3 separate regions of the Homo sapiens genome follow, and regions 2 and 3 are each linked to region 1. The links are contacts of gene promoters, found by promoter capture Hi-C in blood cells and fetal thymus (Javierre and others, 2016). All regions are on one chromosome and are shown on one strand. The core of a region is centred on a gene start or on the middle of the fragment in contact, and the rest is flanking DNA. Distances in the headings are between cores, read along the strand shown.

Region 1 (4,823 bases), core at 591-3,090:
TTGTAGAATTATGCCTGGGTTAAGAGAATATAGGCCACAGGTGAGGACATGTAAGAGACTTTTATATGTAAACTGTACAAGCTTTAGTGAATTGATGCTATAAAAATTATGTTCGCTTGTTTGGAAACCTTTGTTGTTTACATCCTGGTTTCAAATGACTAAAGTTACCTATTAGATATCCTCCAGGGGAGGGAAAGGTCATTGTATTCAGCAAGGGCAAACTGGTTCAACAATCAATTTCCAAATATTTGCATGCACTAGATACCAAAGATGGAAACACACATGATCTCTGCCCCCCAAAGATGTTGACTGGTGGGAAGAAGTGCCAATATAAAAATAGTGTTGAAAGGATTTAGTTAATACTATTGGTTGCACACAATCACACATCTGACACAAACTGGTTTAAGGCAGAAAAAAAGATCATTTATAAGCTTATGTAAATATGCAGTCCAAGAGTAAACCTGACTTCAGGGATGTAAACCCTACTGGATGAGAATCTTCATGGATGGGGCCTGGAAAGCTGTATTTTTGCCCCATCCTTATTTCCTACCAGGTAATTGTAATTCTGTTTTGGAAATAACTATTTTACGTAGATCATTCAAGTTGAAAATTAGATATTACACAGGGAGGAGAGAGACTGCAGGAGGAGACGATTATTCCTGAAGGGATGAGGGAATCCTGAACTCAGGCAGGAGCACCCCTTAGCACATTATGGGCCATGATGTCTGCTTGGTACTTACAACGGGGCTAATGCTGGCACCGGGAGCTTTGAAGGGGTGTCAGCAGAGGACCGTGCCAACTGTCTGTCAGTAAGTCTAAGGGTTCACGATCCTTATGAAAGTGGCTGCCACTTCCCTTCACCTAACAACTATTTATTGTGCAACTACATACCAGGCAGTGAGCTAGGCAGTGAGGACACACAGGTTCACAGGCAAAGAGCCTCTCTTCATGAAGCTTACATTCTAGACAGGAGATAGTCAGTAAACAATCAGAAAAACAAGCGCGCTACTGACTGTGTTAAGTTCTCTAAAGAGAAAAACCCCTTCACTCTATAGTTCCTAGTGCAGGCTGACATTGAATGGGATAGAGGAAAGGCCTTCGAGTTGACAACTTAGTGGAGAACTGAGAGGTGGGAATGAAGTAGTGGTTTGCAAGGCTGGAGTATGAGCCTTCCAAGGAGAGGCAATAGCAAGTGCAAAGGCCCTGCAGTGGGAGGGAACCAAGTGGGGTGAAGACACAGGAAGGATCAAGTATGGCCAGAGATCAGTGAGAAGGAAAGAGTAGAGTAGGATAAGTCTGAAGAGGCTGGCAAGAGCCAGTTTATGGGAAATCTTGTAGGCCCTGAAAGTTTGGATTTTATTCCACACACAACAAAGTGTTTGCTTTAAAAGGAATCTCCTGACTACTGTGTGGAGAAAGTATAAAATTAAGTTTGGGGCTAGATGGACCCCAAGATCCCTGTCTGGCCCCAATAACCCATGGCAAACTCCATGGGGTCCTCAGAAGTCCTCTTAGTAACTGTGGCTCCTATGTCAATGATGCTTAATAGAAGTATCCGCAAAAACAGAAATGTTCTGTATCTGCATACAAGTGGCTCTTGAACTGGAAATGTGGCTAGCGTGACTGCAGAACTGGATGTTAAATTTTATTCTATATAGACTAATTTATTTACGTTTATATAGCCACACGTGGCGAATGGCTATTATATTGGACAGCACAAGGCAACACTGAGCACCGAATGCCTGAGGATTTCTACTCCAAATCCTGAAGGCACGCCCTTCCCCGAATGTTGGGAGAGTGCGAGGATATGCTGACCCCCAAACGCAAATCCCCCTCTGTGCATTTAGTCTTGCCAAGATGGAGAGTCTCAGGCGGGCATTCTGAGCTGCTTCTTGTCACTGGGGAAAACCACGTGCACGCAGTGCTGAGGCGCCCCACGCGCGTCCTCAGGGGAAGCCAGGCACTGAGAACAAAGGTTGTGGGACCGCTCTTTGAGGAACTCACCAGCTCCGCGAGCTCGCGGCCGCCAGCGCGGTCCACCCATTGGCGGGAGAGGACTCACAGACCGCAGCTCCTCACCCCGCCTGCTCCGCAGCGGGACCGCGTAGACCTCAGCTCCCCGAGCAGCGCAGGTGGGCCAGGGAAGGAGAGGACCGAGGCAAGCCACCACGCGGGATTAGGGGTACGGGGACCCCTCGCCGCGCAGTCGCCTCTTTTTCACAGGGATGGGGGCAGGGGTGGCGCCGGCTGTCACCCGCACCGGATCTGCTTCCAGGGCTTGGTTTCGCTTTGCCTGGCTCTTGGCTAGGCCTGGCGCCCCGCGCGGAGCCGAGCAGGTGGCAGCCGAGGAGTGGCGGGGGCTGGAACATTTAACCCTTTGGGAGCACCTGCCCTCTCCCAGAGGGCGCGTCCCCGGATCAGGCCCGGTGCCCCGCAGCGCGCGTGGGTCCTGGCTGGCTGGAAGGAGGCCCTGACCTTGCTTTCTCTCCCGTGCCAGGTCTGCCAAGGACCATGGGTGCCGCGCTGGGGACAGGCACGCGGCTGGCTCCCTGGCCGGGCCGGGCCTGCGGCGCCCTCCCGCGCTGGACACCCACCGCGCCCGCCCAAGGCTGCCACTCCAAGCCTGGCCCGGCGCGCCCTGTGCCCCTGAAGAAGCGCGGATACGATGTCACCAGGAACCCTCATCTCAACAAGGTAATGGGCCAGAGGGCAGGACGGCCCGCGTTGCGATCCCGTGGCTGCCGGAAAATTGCGCCCCGCCCCCTGGACCCAGAAAGGATCCTCCCGGGCGCCCTTCCAGCGGTTTTTCTGTTTTTGCCTTGCAGGGGCTTGTTGTGACTTGGTTTGGCTTTCTTGTCCCTCCTCTCCCTTTTATGCGTGGAGAGAGGCGACCAGTAATGCAGGGAGCCTAATTTCTTCTGCAGTAACAACACAGACCAGGTTTAGATCCTCGCGGTCAGTCTGACCTGCGGTCAGCTCTCCCCTTGATGCTTACTAATTTTATTGGTCTTGGGCAGTTCATTTAACCTACATGAGCCTAGGTTTCCTTATCTGTAAAAGAGATATAATTGTCTTAGGAATGTCGTGAGATCTAAAGAGAAAATGCGGGTAGAAAATGGGGGTACGTTAGAACAGTGCCTGGTACCCAGTGGGAGAATAAATAAGGTTATGATTATTATTCTGAGAAAAAGATTAATTTGAGAGCAAGGATGGAAAAGTCTAGACTTATAGAAATTTTCGAGCTTGCAGGAGCATTAGAGATCCTAGTTTAAACCTCTTCTTTTACAAAAAACAAGACAAAGGAAACTTGCCCAAGGTCACCAGCTAGTTAGTTCTGGCTCTGCCACTGGAATCCAGATCTCCAATGCTTTGGTCGAGTTCAACCCACCGCTAGCTCTTTTGTATTTGTTTTTGGGAATAGAGTTTAGTATCTTTGGTTCAGAGGATTGGGTGAGAGAAATAGAAGCAAGGACAGATTTAGTCCTGTCTCCCCCTACCTCCTCAAATTAACTCACATATCTCATTTAACTTATCTGAGGCCCAACTTTCTCCAGCCTAAAATAGATATTATGATAGACCCACCATTTCTATCTCATTTGGTTATTGTGACAATAAAATGAATCACTGAACTTGAAATCATATTTTAAACTGTATAAAGTGCTGAATAACAATTACTGCAAAATAAATTTTTTTTTCATAATTGCTCTGACTCTGGATTGTGAAATTCAGGTGAGGCAGTCTGTATGGAAAAGATGTTTTTGAGAAGTAGGAACAACTATATAATGTGAAGTATTGTGACTGTTTCCTACAGAACTAATAGAAGCGGCTAAGGAAAAAAAAATCAAAATCAACCTCTATCACATTGGAGTCCTGCTCTTTCCAAAAGAAACCTTAAATTGTTTGGACGCTACCACTTTCCAAAGTGTTCAAGGTGTTTGTTATCACCTTGAATTACTTTGCTAGTAAGCGTTAGAAAATACAAACTGGCTTAAGCACACAAAGGCTCCTTTATCTAAAGAATCTAGAGGAAGGGTTGCAGGCACGGCTTGAACCACAAGCCCAGATGGCATTGCTCAAGATGCAGATTCTCTCTGGCTCTCTACTCTGCCTCTCTGCAAGGTCAGTTTCATCCTCAAGCTCTATTCAGTGAAGTCTCTCACTTCGTTATTGCCACAGTCCTCCATCTCCTGTTCTCACACCACATCATCCAGGAATAGAAAGATACTTTTATTCTGGTAGCTCTTGGGGAAGAGAAAATACCCTTTCTCTGACGCCTCAGAAAGCGAATCCTTCTGCCTTATTGACTCTGATTAGATTCTCTCTTCCCATTCCCAAACCAAAACCAATCACCAGTAATTAAAGCCGGTCAGAGCCCACCCCTGGAGTTAAAATGGGGTTTAAGGTAGGGCCACCCACACCATCTGGCTTGGAATAAAGGGAATATAGATCCTCACAGTAAATATGGATAGTGTCATCAGAAGGAGGAGGAATGGATGTAGAAAGCAAAACAATAAATTCCCACTACAGGCTCCAATCATTGTGAAAATAATTGCCTTAGAATTACTGGCATGTTACCAACCAGCATTTATTGCTTTGTTAAGTAGTTAAGAAAATGAAGGAAGATCTTTAAGTCTTTTTTTAAAACCTAGGTTTTGGTCCCCTGAAATCATTCTTGCCCCTGTCGTTTGCCTCTGATGTAAATTTTTTTCTCCCAAGTACTATAAATAAGTTGTTGATATGGTTTGGCTGTGTCCCCATACAAATCTCATCTTGAATTATAATCCCCATAATCCCCACGTGTTGTGGAAGGAACCCTGTGGGAG
Region 2 (4,823 bases), core at 1,520-4,019, 110 kb before region 1:
GGTTCCTATTTTGATTAATAAAGATGTGTTTGAGCTTAGCGATAATAATTTAAAATTCACAGTCCGAAACCGCAAATACTTTTGCACCAAATTACTTTTGCACTTTTAAAAAAGTACCTATGGCACTGATATAGTTGGAGTCCATCTTAATAATAATGATCATTTATAATCATTATAATAATAGCATCATGTGCTAGATACTGTGCTAGATACTTCCCACTACTTGCATTTGACCGGATAACCCTGAGCAGTAGTAGCTCGAATCCCTCTTTTTACTGGCAAGAACCTGAGGCTCCAAACAGTTAAGTAACATTCTCTGTTCAGAGTGTTGGAGAGAGGATGAAAACCCAGGACTCTCTATCCCAAATTCTCTTATAAGGTTTCCTATGTTGTTTCTGTTAAGATGCTTTTACATGCAAGTAATGGAAAATCCCAATTCACTCTAGCTTAAAAAATAATAAGGAAATGAAAAATCATACATATCAAGAAGTTCAAGGTCAGGGTGGCTGCAGGTGAGGGGCACTCAAGGCTCCCTCTCTGCTTCTCTTGGTGCCCCCTCTTCTGCATTGGCTCAGCCCTCAGGCTTGCGACAAGATGGAGAAACAAGCAAACATCATGTATAATTATATCCAGGAGACAATCAAAAGGGGGCTTTTCTTATGTGTCTTAGGAGCAACAAATTTATACCACTCCCCACACCTGTCCTCGTATTGCAATGGCTGGAATTCAATAGTCATAATACATCCTTTGCTAAACCTATTACTGGAAAGGGAATGAAGTTACCTCAGTTAGTCTAAGGTAGGTGGTGTGGAATAATTGGAAGAGGTCTGGACTAGGGTTCAGAGATCTTGGGTTTTAGTCCTAGTTCTGTCATCTACTTAGTTATGGAAACTTGCTAATTGGGTAGCCTCTTTTAGACCTTACCTTTTCCTTATTGGTAAAACAGGGCCAACAATTCCCACCCTACTGATCTCACCAGGTTGTTGTGAAACAGGAATGAAGTCATGTCTGTAGAAACACTTTGTAAAGTGTAACACACTACTTAAATGCATGTTATTGCTTCTATTAACATGATTCAAAGAGAGCTGTTGATCATGAGACACTTTCAATTAAACTCATCTGTGGTACTTAATCTCATCAAGATGATAGTTTAGAATTTGTATGAGTTTTGTCAAAGATTTACCTAAATTTTACTTTTGTGCTGGCAGATTAATAGTGTAAAATAGGGGGAAAGTATGAAATTTAGTATTTAGAAAGCCAATTTTCAAGCGTCCGGATGAACTTCAACAGGAAATCTATATATAAATTAGGATAGGTCAATAAGATTGGTTATTTATAAGTTAAAGTAGTCATCAAAAAGTAAGTTTTCTAAGAAGCTATTATACACCTTTCTCATCCCTTCATTTATACCAATTCAGTAAACATGTATGGAATATTACCATGGGAGGAGGTGATGGGGTACACAAAAAATTAAATCTGAAACAGACCCTGCTGAAAGGACAGTGACTATCTAATAGTTAAAAATTCTAGAAAGCAGACTAGATAAAGCAGCTATAATAAAACGTAGGAAGATAAGAGGAAGTAATAGCTCAGTAATGAAGGGACAAAGGGCTGTAACTGCTCAGAGGGTGGAGACAGTTTTCAGCTGTGGTGTTAGGGAAGGCTTCATGGACAAGGTGTCACTTGAATTAGAAGCTGTCAGATTTGGATATGGAAATAGCAAGTTCATCTGTTCACGTATATCAAACTTGCTTCAAAAATTTGAATACCCAACTGGAAAGCATAATCCTTGAGTATAAATTACATGAGAGATGCAGCAAAATATAAAAGTTGGAAAGGTAAAGATTGCAGGTAGAATATAGAAGGGCTGAAATATCATACTCAGGAATTTGAACTTTATTCAGTAGGCAATGGAAGTCAGCAAAAGCTTTTGGGCAGTGTGCCTTCATAATATCTGTGCTTTATAAGGATTAATCGGGCAGCTTCTGGAAAGGTAAGTGCAAGGGGAGAAAGTGAAGGCTGAGAGACAAACTAAGAGTTTGCACATTCAAGCAAGAGTTCATGAGAACCCAAACTAGATTATGGACATTGAGATGGAGATGACATAATGGATATGTGATATTCTGGAGGGAGAAACCTTAGGTCTTGGTAATTTATATAAAAAAGAGTTGGGGAAATGGGGGAATCAGGGACCTTTCGTTAGGAAGTGATAAAAAAAAAGTCACCCAAACTTGACTTGCCTAAATAGAGAAGTAAATTAGGCTGGGCACAGTGGCTCACGCCTGTAATCCCAGCATTTTGGGAGGCCAAGGCGGGCAGATATTTTGAGGTCAGGAGTTTGAGACCAGCCTAGCCAACATGTTGAAACTCCATCTCTACTAAAAATACAAAAATTAGCCAGGCGTGGTGGTGCATGTCTGTAATCCCAGCTACTAGGGGAAGCTGAGGCAGGAGAATTGCTTGAACCCAGGAGGTGGAGATTGCAGTGAGTTGAGATTGCACCTTTGCACTCCAGCCTGGGCGACAGAGGGAGACTCCATCAAAAAAAAAAAAAAAAAAAAAAAAAAAAAGTAAATTTACCTATTAACTTAATTGAAAAGTCCCCAAAATAGGTCTAGCCTTGGAACTGTTGAACTACAGGGCTCAAGAAACATCATCAGGATTTGGGCTTCTCTACCACTCAGTTTTTCTTCTGTGCTGGTTTCACTTTAAGGTAATCTGCAGATGCTTTTAACTTATATTTTCCCAGAATTAAAACCAGCAGAAAAGAGAGTTTGTCTCCCTCATCAGTTCCAACAACTATCCTGACCCCGATTCCCATTGGCCAGGCAGGGTCACCTGCACATTCCTGAAGTAATCTCTCTGGCTACGAGAGATCATTGCTGATTGGCTTGGACTCATATCTGGTCTTTCTTATTCTTATTTTAATAATTTGCCCATGAAGACAGCCTAAGTATAGGCCACTATAAAATGCTGCCCTATGACCAAGATCAGATCTCATTCTGATGAATTCTTCCTAACCAAAAGACATGATTCGGAACAGTGACAGCTTCTTTTCATTCCATCAACTGCAATATTTTTTAAGGCATTTCTTAAGGGCCTGGCACATGGCTAACCTCATAAAATGAATAAAACCAAAACTATTTCTAGGGCCGTATTCAAACTGGAGAGTACAAACCTACATAAATGCTAAAAAGATTTCAAGTCTGGGAAAAGGGTACAGATTATCTGAGGGGTGACAAAGGAGTAACTATTAACCTAAGCCTTGAAGCAGCTTTACATCAAAACAATCTAGGCAGGGCACGGTGATGCATACCTGTAGTCCCAGCTACTCAGGAGGCCAAGTTGGGAGAATTATTTGAGCCCAGCAGTTTGCAGCTTCTGCAGCATAGTGAGACTCCATTATGTTTAAAATAGAACAATCTAGGCAAGGCACTGAATGCCAACCAGATGTTGAAAAATCATTTGGATTTAATTTGAAATAAGGTAATTGCTTGAAAAATAACATGCACCATCTGCCTGATCTGAATCTTCTCTTTATACAGCACTTATCTAAAGAGTGTACCTAAATTAAAAGTTTACTAAGTGTTTATGGGTATGAGGAAAGCTTATGCCTTCCAGAGAATACTATGAAAATTCCTCCGGTAAAGAAAAGCAGCATTCATTCTGTGAAGTGAATCTCTTGCCCCAGTACTGATGGGTACGCATCCCCATTTTCACATACTGGATTTGCTTTAAAGCCAGGTACTCACACCTGAGCTGCATGAAGGAAAAATGTTGAATCCCATCATAAGACTGTTAAATTTGAGCTCTGTTTTATTAAAAAGAAAATGTCTACTTGAAAAGTGTTTGGCTCATGCCTGTAATCCCAGCACTTTGGGAGCCTGAGGCAGGCAGATCACCTGAGGTCAGGAGTTCGAGACGAGCCTGGCCAACGTGGTGAAACCCCATCTCTGCTAAAGTACAAAAATTAGCTGGATGTGGTCGTGCCTGTCTGTAATCCCAGCTACTTGGGAGGCTGAGGCAGGAGAATCGCTTGAACCTGGGAGGCAGAGGTTGCAGTGAGCCAAGATTGTGCCACTGTACTCTAGCCTAGGCAAAAGAGAGAGACTCCATTTCAAAAAAAAAATAATTAAAAGTGTTAAAGGCACAAATGCAGCTTGAATCAAGTTGTTACCAAAATCCACGCTGCTGTGTGCATATTTTTAAACATATAGCAGAGCCACTCCTTCAATTTTCCAGAGTGACTGTCATCCTGCTGATGCAAACTACTGTAACATGTAATTTGGAATGAGATCAAAAGTTTGAAAATTAGAAAAGAATCTGGGTGGAACACTTGATTTTTGATACTGCAAAGCAGATGAGTGTACTGGTTTAGCCAGAGCTGGTTGTCCCAATACAATACAATCAACAGGTCTTGTAATCAACAGTTCCCGGGAGGCTGCAGGCTTGCTGCAATGTCAGCTGGATTTGTGAAGCCCAGGAAGCCTCCTGGCCCTCATTAGACTCATAAAAATCATCCTGAAGAAACACAGATGTTAACAACAACACTGATAGAAGACCCAGGTTTGGAGGGAATCACTTTTTTTCTCAATTATGCAACTTCCTAACTGGTCACTGGGAAGGCAGGGGACAGGTGGACGGGAAGGATGATGATTTTAGAGAGCTGTATTTCCTTCATTTATCTGAGTGCCCCGACCAAGATATAAAAAGGAGAGACCAGGGAAGAGAGTTTGCATTTGGTGATCTGCACCTACCATAGTGCCTGACACATAGTTCATGCTCGATAACAATTTGTTGAATAAATGAATGATTGAATAAAT
Region 3 (4,823 bases), core at 1,028-3,527, 72 kb before region 1:
TTTTCTAAAAGACCTATTTAAGTTCATACATATATTCCTTTTACAGCTGTGCATCATGACTGGGACAGGCATGGTCTAATATCAGCTAACAGAGTGGATCTGGAAACACTCCAGATCCCCTCCAGGCCTGTACTGGGTCTGGCTGCCTGCTGGACCCTGTTTCTCTGATGGATGATTCAATTACAGGAGAATTCATAGCCCCTTTTGGCAAAACTGGCTCTTAAGTGACAGTTCGTATGCATTGTATTTAAGCCCCCTGGTAAAAAGATTTAAGTCCTTTTCCTGTCCTAGTGGATTCCTCAGCCCTCTTGCAAATCAGGGGATGACAATGAATCTGTGGGGAAAGGAGCAGTGCCACTATTTTTGGGAGGTGGGGCAATATTACCTGAAGCAGCAGTTCTTGCTCAGCCAAGATTTTTTTTTTATTAGATTTCAAACACAGGCAAAAGAACCAGTGCTTAGCCAACTAGTCATAGGCCTCTAATTAGAATCAAAGGTTAGTTTTGAGGTGGAAACTAACAGTTAATTTAGGTCAGTGTTTCCAAATTGTGAGCTACATACCCAGAGTCTGTGGATTACAATACTCCAATGCAGAGGATGCCAAACATCACCTAGACTATGAAGAAATAGCACATCCTGCCCACTCCACATGCATAGAATACTATTTTTCAAACATATGTGCCCCTGCTGAGATTAATAAACTATAAGCGCAACACAAAGTGTTATCGCATTCATGATCGTTTTAAACTGTTATGTGTTTTCTCTCTTTTTTTTTTTTTTTGGTTATGTGTTTTCTCAAACAACCAATATAAGAATTAATCTACATTTACATAGAGGTGGTTTTGGAAATTTTTTGACTTAAAAAATTGATCCTCGTATTGGAAAAGTTTGTGAAACTTTGTGCTAGAATTCTACCTCCTAGAATTACATGTTGGGGTGGCAGGGGGCATTGTAAAATGCAACCCAAGTCTAGGATTCTGTATCTAGCAGTCAAGCCCAGGGATCTGTTTTAGTTCACTCGCCCAGTGATTCATCTGCATACTGAAGTGTAGAACCTGAGATCAGGTCAACCCACTTATCCCATGGCTGAGGGAATTCAAGCTCCAGAGAAGGGAAGTGACTGGGCCAATGTCATAAAACATGTGGTCAATAGAACCTCCTTTATCCTATGTCTCCACCCCACAGCGAAAGGAAGAGCAAGCTACTCTCACCTGGGAGGTCCAGCTGGTGAAGACCACAAGAGACTGTCTCCAGTGGGTGAGGTGTTCTCCCTCCAAGGCTTTTACTATTCACCCTCGTCTCTCACAAATGCCCCAGATCAGGCTGGCCGGGCCACTACCTCACTGATCTCTATATGTTCAGCATTTTCTGTCTCTCCCAGCCCTTGCCAGAGCTTCTCCTGCTTCCTGATGTCCCACCTCATCCTGCCTATTCTCTCCAGTCCCAGTTCTGAATTGCTATTTTCTGAATGCTGTGTCCCCCTCAAATCTGTAGGTTGAAACCTATTCACCAAGTGATGGTGCCAGGTGGCGGGGCCTTTGGGAAGTGACTAGGTTACAGGGCAGAGCCCTCATGAATGGGACTCATACCCTTAGGAAAGAGCCTTGAGGGAGCTCATTTACTGCTTCCACATGTGTGGTCACAGAAAGAGGCATCATCTATGAACAAGAATACAGGCCCTCACCAGACACCAAATCTGCTGGTTTCTTGATCTTGGACTTCCCAACCTCTGGAGCTGTGAGGAATAAATTTCTGTTGTTCATAAGCCATCCAGTTTCTGATGTTTTTGTTATAGCAGCCCAAACAGACTCAAATACCAATTCTGTCTCAAAAATGTTTTTCAGGACCATCCTAAGCCTAAGTATCACTTTGTGGCCTTGAAACCCCTCCACACCCTGGAGTGTGCTTGTGTTTATACTGTTTTGTGTGTGGAGGATGGCTAGGTTGTGTTTCACATAATGTCTAATGCAGAGATGTGCTGAAGTTTCTTACTTGATGAATGAAAGTGCTCAAATGTGGATGACACAAACTCCAAAACTGTTTAGTGTGGAAATACTCACCATTTAGCCTTTTATTTATTTATAACCACTTTTTGAGCACTTTGTGTCATGCCCAAAGATGCAAAATGGACCAACTGTAGTCCTTCTTTCTCTTTCTTTTTTTTTTTTTCTTTGAGATGGAGTCTTGCTCTGTCGCCCAGGCTGGAGAGCAGTGGCGCGGTCTCAGCTCACTGCAAGCTCCGCCTCCCAGGTTCACACCATTCTCCTGCCTCAGCCTCCCAAGTAGCTGGGACTACAGGCACCCACCACCACGCCCGGTTAATTTTTTTGTATTTTAGTAGAGATGGGGTTTCACCATATTAGCCAGGATGGTCTCAATCTCCTGACCTCGTGATCCACCCACCTCGGCCTCCCAAAGTGCTGGGATTACAGGCGTGAGCCACCGCACCCGGCCAGTCCTTCTCTTAAGGGCTATGTGTGCTGATGGTAGTTTAGATCTCTGCTGCTGTTTGATTTTTTTGTATATTGGCAAAAACTTAATTTTTTTGTACCCCAATAAATGATTATTTAACATTGTAAACAATTAGCAAAATTGTGAGGAAGAGCAGTCATTAATGGAAATAAATCCTTAATGAATAATATAATATTTAATCAATTATAAAGCATATCCTATATTCCAGGCTATTTATGAACAGGATTTCATTTATTCCTCCATGCAACTCTTCAAGTGCACTGTTATTTCTGTTTTAATAATGGAAAAAATGAAGCAAGTGACTTGCCTAAGATCCTATCAAATGTGACACCGGAATTTAAATCCAGGTTTGTGTAATAACCAAGCCTGTGACCTTAATCACTGCTCTATGTCACCTCCCCTGTCCCCAGACAGCCTTTCTGCACCAGGGTTTCATAAACACTGAAGCATAAGCAGTTGCTAGGGGATAATGAATGACACTGAGTCACTAAGGGCAGCCAGCAGATCTGAAGTGATTGATGAATTTGTTACCAGTAAGTGGGGTTAGAAATTACAAAACAACATTAGAATCTATTGCACACAACCGCAAGCTGTCAGTGAGGTGAGACATGCAACAAGCCAAGGTATGTCTTTATTCTCTGATGCGCGGTTTGGTGTCTCAACAAGTCTTCCCAGCCATTTACCCCAGAGCCTGCTCTTTTTCAAGGGTGGTTCTCTAGAGGCAGTCTGGAGAAATTAGATTATAAAAGTTTGTCCCCAGCCTTTTTTGCCTGACTCATGGTGTGGTCTCAAGCCAGTGAGTCACCAACCTGTGACTCAGTTTTCACAGCCTACGCAGGGCTCAGAGTTTGACTGTTGGGCTCCCAGGGAATCCTGGGAATCCTGGGCTATACTTCTCTCCTTTGGCTTGTAAGAGTATCTTTTAAACTGTCAGAGGTGCTCATGGGTGGCCCAAGAACAAGGAAACTGAAGTGGCCTCACCAAGGGGGTCAGCCTCTGTTTCTGCTGATGCTATGTAATACTGAGTGTGGATCCTCTGCTCTGTGGGTGGTGCTCTGTGGCAACGGGCTGTCAGAGTGGACCAGTACTCTGAAGAGGAAAAAATTATCTGTGTGAAGAAACATGGATTCACTTCAAACCTGTCCTTTCCGAGCTACACTGAGTAAACTGGGACAGCTTCCGGTCCTCCATCCAGGTCACAACCCCACCCCCACAGTCCTCTGGGTAAACTCTGGTATGAAAAATTCATTTCGGATTTGACCAAGGAGCTCAGAAGTTTATGTGATGGGGAGCATAGACTATATCTTGGGAACAATTAGGTCTTCAAGAGGTCTCCATCCTCTGCCTACTTACAAACAGAACACAGCTCAGGTGAGCATCCTGGGAGACACCATTCCCAGTATGGGTTGTTTCAGCGATGGGACATAAGATGTTTGGAATGGGCTACTTCTTGCCATTAGTTCACCTGACATACCAAATATGATCAATATCAAGATTAAAAAAATGAGCATGACAACATATCCCCAAGATGTGGATTTTCAAGAAAAGGGCTCATGTACCTTCAGTCTTGGCCCTCAGCCAGGTCAAGAGTAGAGGAAAGGGTCAGAGGGACCAGCTTGGAGAGAGAATTAGAGAAGAGATTCCTTTGGAGAGAGCTGTTACAGCCCTCTCCCTTAGAGGGAGGCATGGAGGTGCTGCAGGAGAACGTGAAAAGATATTTCTTGCACGAGGGACCATAGAGAACTAGTCCTGAGTAATGTCTGGGAGAGCAGACCATGACTGGGTCCTGGCTCCTGCCCGCTGTGGGCAGAGGATGAGAGAGGAGTAACTTGCTGTCTAGGTTCAGGAACCAGGAGGTGTGCTGGGTGGGTTTGGAATGCATTCCCAGAGTTGTTCAAGGTCATTTCCTATGCACTAGATGTGGGACACACCAGAAAGAGAACCGTTCTGTGGGCCATCTTAGATCTTCTCTGAAAGTGCCTGTGAGAGAAGTGAAGGGATTTTCGCAGGAAGATTGGAAATGTGCTGCTCCTCAATGCCTCAAGTGGCTCCAGGAATGGCGACACATCTGTCAGGGTCAAGGTGACTGCAGGACAGAGGTCCCACAAAGGGACTTGGGAGCAACCCATGGCATGGCCCCTATGAGAAGAGTGCTGCTCTGGCTCACCCAGGGGATGCTTCCCTTGGCCAAAGACCAGACTCAAGTCAAATCTGTACTATTGCTTTACCTCTTCTCCTGCCCATGGCTTTAACTGTGTTGGATCTGAAACAGCAGAGAGAGAGAGAGTGGGGCAGGAGAGGTCCAGGACAGGAGAAGTCAACAGTGTATTATTATGCCATGAGTCATGCTT

What was found. Contacts are between HindIII fragments. The CHiCAGO score rates a contact against its expected background, and 5 or more counts as called.
Region 2: a fragment that was not itself captured here is called in contact with the fragment with the promoter of ME3 in region 1 in 2 of 17 cell types (megakaryocytes and endothelial precursors); the score reaches 8.3 in megakaryocytes.
Region 3: a contact is called between a fragment that was not itself captured here and the fragment with the promoter of ME3 in region 1, in 1 of 17 cell types (M2 macrophages). The highest score is 7.3, in M2 macrophages.

The regions. Positions count from the first base shown.
Region 1 is chr11:86,669,633-86,674,455 of GRCh38, reverse strand. It overlaps ME3 (malic enzyme 3), which reads left to right and starts at 1,840. Exons shown (of 15, transcript NM_001161586.3): 1 at 1,840-2,132; 2 at 2,498-2,694. The coding sequence starts at 2,512. The HindIII fragment of the contact is 7,449 bases long and covers 957-4,823 here.
Region 2 is chr11:86,784,020-86,788,842 of GRCh38, reverse strand. No RefSeq gene overlaps it. Among named protein-coding and RNA genes, the nearest start is that of PRSS23, 14 kb to the left of the region's middle. The HindIII fragment of the contact is 1,680 bases long and covers 1,930-3,609 here.
Region 3 is chr11:86,742,027-86,746,849 of GRCh38, reverse strand. No RefSeq gene overlaps it. Among named protein-coding and RNA genes, the nearest start is that of PRSS23, 56 kb to the left of the region's middle. The HindIII fragment of the contact is 5,887 bases long and covers 1-4,823 here.